Regions from separate parts of the Homo sapiens genome. Here region 2 is linked to region 1. The links are contacts of gene promoters, found by promoter capture Hi-C in blood cells and fetal thymus (Javierre and others, 2016). All regions are on one chromosome and are shown on one strand. The core of a region is centred on a gene start or on the middle of the fragment in contact, and the rest is flanking DNA. Distances in the headings are between cores, read along the strand shown.

Region 1 (3,193 bases), core at 117-2,616:
TCAGCTCTTCAGGGGTCCAGCCTGGGAGAGGCTGTAACTGGCTAAAGCCTCATCCCCTTTCTATTTCCAGAGATTTGCCTACTCTACACATTTCATATAAATAACATCATACAATATGCAGTCTTTTGTGACTGGCTTCTTTCACGTAGTGTAATGTTTTCAAGGTTCACACTCAATGTATCTGTTTAAACTAAATGAATAAATGACTGGGTAACTCTGTCTAGTGCAACCCTGAATCAGAACTCTGAATAACTAGATTCCTGGCTGACCCTCTACTTCCTGGTAGGAAAGGAGTTCCCTCTGCATAGGAGCCCCAAGAAATGATGTCTACTTCCCAAGACAGGTTTCAAATAATCTAAGTGTCTGGTGGAGTTAAGCTCTCTGAGGGTAAGGGCTCTATATGGGCAATTAATGACACATAAGACCGGGGCAAGTATCCAATACATGGCATTAGTTTTTCTATTAAACATATATTTATTAAGGGTCTATCAGGCACAAAATGTCATACTTAGCTCTTTCTTGCTTCTCACTTTATATTACAAACAGCTCAGTGAGATAGGTATATCTCACTGATAGGTTTATAATGGGCATTATATGTGAGAACTGATACTCACAGTGAGTATCATAGTAATACTCTAGCAATTATTGATAATTGTTACAGCAACTTTCAGAGATTACCCAGTTATCATATGCAAGTTTTCTGATTCCAGTAGCACATTCAATACAAGTCCTCTGACTGAAGGAAATGTTTAGATTTTAGAGGGAATTGTTTATTCTCAATCATTCTCCTTGCTTTAGGTGACAGAATCAACTCAGATTTAATCCACCGAATCTGCTTGCCATGGTGAGTCGGAGGAAAAGCAGAAACACAGAGGCCAGGAGGAAGGGCTGAGAGCCTAGGCAAGGGAGGGATGCCTAGAAAAAGCCAAGGCTGTAGAAGCCCTCTGGGATGGCTGGATCCACAGCAGGACATGGAAGAGAAACTGCTCAGGGTGGAGGGAGTCATAATGGAACATTTCCACAAGGTCAGGGAAAGCTGTGGCTCAGAACTGATGTTTCCTCAGAGGACATGCATTAAAAAAATGCAGGGAACAGAATCTTGTCCAGGTGTGGGTCCCTTGGGTACCCTAAGTTAACTCTTTAGGGTTCCCACCTGGTGGAGGCTCTGACTGGCTACAGCCTCTCTAGACTGCAGCCCCAGAGAGGAGTCCTGGAAGCTCCTGAGGCCTCTTTGGATTGCAGGGACTAAGAGGCAGGAGAATGTCAGGAATGACCCAGCGTGTGCCTGGTTGTGCAAGAGCCACCTCCTGCTCTTTCCAGAGCCAAGCCTGGGCCCTATAAAAGACACATCCAGCTTCAGCATCTCATCTGCTCTGACTCCCCAGGGACGTGTCTGTGCTCCTGCGTGTGACCAGGGTGAGTGGCAACCTGGGATACCAGAGGGGTATGAGCAAGGCAGAGGGATGGGGAGGATGGAGGTAGGCTGGAGAAAGAGTTGTGTGCTTGTGTTCTGCCATACTGAGCAGGAATGGGACTCAGCCTGCCTCGAATCTGTTGAGGCTCTGAGGCCTACCGGAGCTCATATAGGTGGGGAAAGCTAACTGTGCACATCTTTTCCAATTCTGTGTTCAGTGACTTCATGTTGGTAACTTCAAAACTGCTGTGTTGGGCATATTTACACCATGGAAACTGGCAAATACTTCAAGCCAGGCTCTTTTATCTGGAGGTTTCATTGCAAAATATTTTCCAGAGGACCCCTTGGTATGTCCTGCAACACCCAGCTTGTCCTTAGGGCTTGTATTAAAGGAATAGGTACTTCAGGGAGCTGTGAATACTCTATTCGGGCTTGTGAGGATAGAGCAATCGCAGTTTCCCCTGAAAGGAAGAGTAAGAAGCTCATTCTGTTGATTTTTTATCTACGTACTTTTATCTAGAGGAAAGATTCAAGTTGTTTCTTTCAGGTTACTGATGTGATTGTATTATCTAAATATCATTCTTCTTCTACACATGCATTGATTTTAGAAGAGGTATAATATGATCCTTGGTTTGAAATATTTAAAGAGTTTCATTATTATCTTTCAGGTTGACTAAACTCCTGCCAGCATGTCTTGCCAGCAAAACCAGCAGCAGTGCCAGCCCCCTCCCAAGTGTCCTCCCAAGTGTACCCCAAAATGTCCACCTAAGTGTCCCCCCAAATGCCCACCACAGTGCCCAGCTCCATGTTTCCCTGCAGTCTCTTCTTGCTGTGGTCCCAGCTCTGGGAGCTGCTGTGGTCCCAGCTCTGGGGGCTGCTGCAGCTCTGGGGCTGGTGGCTGCTCCCTGAGCCACCACAGGCCCCGTCTCTTCCACCGGCGCCGGCACCAGAGCCCCGACTGCTGTGAGAGTGAACCTTCTGGGGGCTCTGGCTGCTGCCACAGCTCTGGGGGCTGCTGCTGACCTGGGCTACAGAAGAGCTCTTGGGACTGAATGGCCAAGAACCTGCTACGGCCTGATGGATACTCTTTCCACTTCCTCTCATTCCATTCATTGGTTGGCAGAGACCACAAAGACTCATGGGGCTTTCCTGGAAGAACTTCGTGCTTGATGTAACACCCCAATTGCAAGTCTTCTTTTCCTCCTTTACCTCATGTTATAATAAAGCTCTGATCTCTGACTCACTAAATGTCTTGGTCATTCTCTTCTCTTCTGAGATTTCAAATGTCCTCCAAAGGTCAGGGCCTCAGAGTAATTTTCTTCATGAGGCTAGGACAGGACATGAGTAGGTGATACATGAAAAGCTGCTCTGAGGAACTGATTCCCCCAGATGCTGAGTGAATGGAGCTCCAAGAGGGTCACCTCTGGCTATGGTAGCTTTGCCTTTCTCTCCACTAAGCCAGACACATGTTCTAATTTTCTGTGTAATCCAGACGTTGGGAAGGTTGGGAAGCTCTGCAGACTTGTTCTTCTCTAGGGAGAAGAACACATCCCTATGAAGCAAAACTTTCCTGCCCTTAGAATCAATAGTTGGATAAAATGCTTGAAACAGATGTTGAGACCCTTCCTCCTGTAAAGTACAGCCCATGGTCACTCAGCTTCTTTTCATGAGTCTGGTTAAGATCAGCCTTTTGACTTGCTGCCTTGGACACCTGGCTTCAGTTCCTCACAGTGTTAGATCTGAGTCCCAGGATGCTGTCCTGCCACTTGGCTCACGTGC
Region 2 (2,963 bases), core at 133-2,632, 700 kb after region 1:
ACAGACTCAGAGAGAGGAACTGAGTAGAGCCTTAAGTGAGTTATTGAGAGAGGGAAGCAAAGGACCTCTCCCACAGCAGCGGGGAGAGCATCCTTTGGGAGCTCAAACTGGGGCCAACCCCACCCCAGTCCTTGTCCCACCATCCTCTGCCAGGCCTTGCCACTCCCCTCAGTGCAGGGTCATGGGCAAGTTTGCAGTGAGAGGGGCATCACCTACCTTGATGGTGTTTGCAAGCTCCTTTGTAAGCAGCTGCTTCAGCTCACCCTTAGAGAGGGTGTCAAAATGCCCCTTCCGAACTGAGTATTGGTGGAAGATATTGACAATTCCCTCCAGATGCTCTTCAAGTTTTGTCATCTTCCCAGCCTAATGTTAACCTTCAAGGAAACAAGGGAAGTCTAGAGGCAGTTTCTCCCCCACCCCTCAACCTCCACTCTCCCCTCTCTTTCTGAATCAAGGGCCTAAAGAAAACATAACATCCTCCATATCTATTTTGTGGTCTCTGCTCTGTTTGATCCATGGTGAACTTCTCATGTGTGGATAGGATGGGGAGGAGAAAACATATAATACTGTCTAACGTCTAAAAAAATCAGCCTCAGTTGCCCATGTTCCATACCACCTCATCCACCGGGGTGCATAACTTGGAGGGTATTGCTTACTCAAGGTCCCTTGGGAAGGGTTCTGTGATTGGCCAGGCTGTTTGCTTTCCTCAGGTGATGGCACTATGGCCACATATCCCCCACAAATGGTCCATAACCCACCCCTGCTTAGCCATTCTTTTTTTGTTGTTGTTGTTTTGGGTTTTTTGTTTGTTTGTTTGTTTGTTTTTGAGACGGAGTCTCACTCTGCCGCCCAGGCTGGAGTGCAGTAGGGCGATCTCGGCTCACTGCAAGTTCTGCCTCCCGGGTTCACGCCATTCTCCTGCCCCAGCCTCCCGAGTAGCTGGGACTACAGGCACCCGCCACCACGCCCGGCTAATTTTTTGTATTTTTTTAGTAGAGACGGGGTTTCACCATGTTAGCCAGGATGGTCTCGATCTCCTCACCTCATGATCCGCCCGCCTCGGCCTCCCAAAGTGCTGGGATTACAGGCGTGAGCCACCGTACCCGGCCTGCTTAGCCATTCTTAAATCATGGGACTGAGTCTACATAGCACAACAAGAGCTGATCTACTTGGGTCCAAAATGCAATATCACCCCAGAGGTGCTCAGGCAAGTGGAGGGTTGTGGTTTCCAACACCTTGTGATTTCAAAGTGGTCACCTGCAGTCACTACCCTGTGGACCACCTAAGAACCCATCCAAGGAAAATGCACTTACCCCTCAATGCACAGGAATGTGGAGCTACAGCAAAAAGCCAGCAGTGGTGAAGGGCACTGAGCCAAGGAAGGTTTTATAATCAGTTCAGGCTTCATCTTAGCCCTTGGGTGAAGAAATCTCTGATTCATCTTGAGGCAATTTATGTAAAGTACTCTGTTGCTCAATAGAAGCTTCAAACCTGTGGCTTAGGCTGCCACAGGAGCAGCCCAGATTGTACCCAGACTGAATTTTGCCCTCCTGCTCAGCCTGAAACAAAATCACCCCCACTCCACCCACCCGCACAGGGGTGCCCTGAACCTTTTTTAGCCCTGAGCCAGGGCCCAGGTTTCAGGTTTAGCTCTACTCCACTGCTCCCTAATAAAAGACTAGGAGAACAAACTTTACAGCCTGAGTGTCTTGTTTTAACAGATGAGGTTACCAGCTCTTCAGTTTTGGCAAATGGAATATCAACTTAAAGATCTTTATGCAGCTAAGGAGATAGGTAGGGAGACCTCCTCCTAAGTCGTTCTGGGATGCAAAGTTCATCACTGGAGCAGAGGATCAGTTTTCAAAATAGATTCCAAGGTTTTCAAAAAAGGAGAGAGCAATGCTACTATGCCTCCCCTTTGCTTTCCCAACTTTCTAACTTGGCTGTTACAAAGACCTAGAAAGCTGGAGTAGGGTAATCATTGTGTGTGAAGAAAGTTCACCATGCCTAGGTTACTTTACCATGTTCATGAGTTCAGTAAGACAGAACATTCACACGAGTTTTAGTAAAGCAACTTTATTACTCACAGAGAGGCAGCAAGGGACAACAGATGCCCAGGATTCATGGAGAGGTGGTCCTTCAAGATTCAGAAACCTGCCCAAAATGGATTAAGTCTCATCTGTACATTCCCCATGTCGCACCAAAGCTAAGGGACATCCAAAAGCACTCTGCCCTTGGTTTATGCCTAGAGGTCAATAAGATTGCTGAGCAATCAAGGCCATGCCAGAACCTGTGCTGCCATCTACCCCACAACACAGATATCCCCCTTAGCAAAGCTAGTTCATTTCATGTGCCCACCGACCTCTCTGGATCTGGAGGCAAAAGTCTGTCTCTCCGATCCATGTGTCACCTTGACTGACACAATCTCAGTGCAACATTGTTAAGCCATTGACAGTATTTGTTTCACTAGGCCCAGGAGGACACCACCAGAGCAGGATGATCAGGCTTGTGTAAATCAATGACAATGACCAAGGTGAATCTCAATCATTTTAGGAGGTTTATTTGGCCAAAGTTAAGGATGCGTGCCCAGAGGTAGGTCTACGTCTTTCTCCAAAGATGATTTTGAGGGCTTCAATATTTGAAGGAGAAACAGTGGATATTGGGGGAAGAGGAAGAAATATTTTTTAAATGTGTCAGTAGATAAGAGACAAGTGATTGCATCCTTTTGAGTCTTTGATCAATCTTTCACTGAATACACAATTTTCATGTGGGAGCGGAGTAGAGGAAATAGTCACTTATGCCTTCATCTGGCTCAGTGAATCTGCATTTTTACATAAGATAACAAAAATAGGGGAGAGGAAGCAATCAGATATGGATTTGTCTTGGGTGAGCAGAGGGATGACTTTATGTTCTGCCCTTTGTCCCACACCTGTGAAGATAAGCTGTCAATTACACTGCCAGGG

What was found. The method cuts DNA at HindIII sites, captures the fragments that hold promoters and counts their contacts. A CHiCAGO score of 5 or more calls a contact.
Region 2: the fragment with the promoter of S100A12 here is called in contact with the fragment with the promoter of LCE2C in region 1 in 4 of 17 cell types (endothelial precursors, total B cells, non-activated CD4 T cells and 1 more); the score reaches 9.3 in endothelial precursors.

What each region holds. Positions count from the first base shown.
Region 1 is chr1:152,673,913-152,677,105 of GRCh38, forward strand. It overlaps LCE2C (late cornified envelope 2C), which reads left to right and starts at 1,367. Exons shown (of 2, transcript NM_178429.5): 1 at 1,367-1,416; 2 at 2,083-2,657. The coding sequence starts at 2,104. The coding sequence ends at 2,436. The HindIII fragment of the contact is 8,836 bases long and covers 1-3,193 here.
Region 2 is chr1:153,374,239-153,377,201 of GRCh38, forward strand. It overlaps S100A12 (S100 calcium binding protein A12), which reads right to left and starts at 1,383. Exons shown (of 3, transcript NM_005621.2): 1 at 1,314-1,383; 2 at 217-374. The coding sequence starts at 354. The HindIII fragment of the contact is 5,829 bases long and covers 1-1,481 here.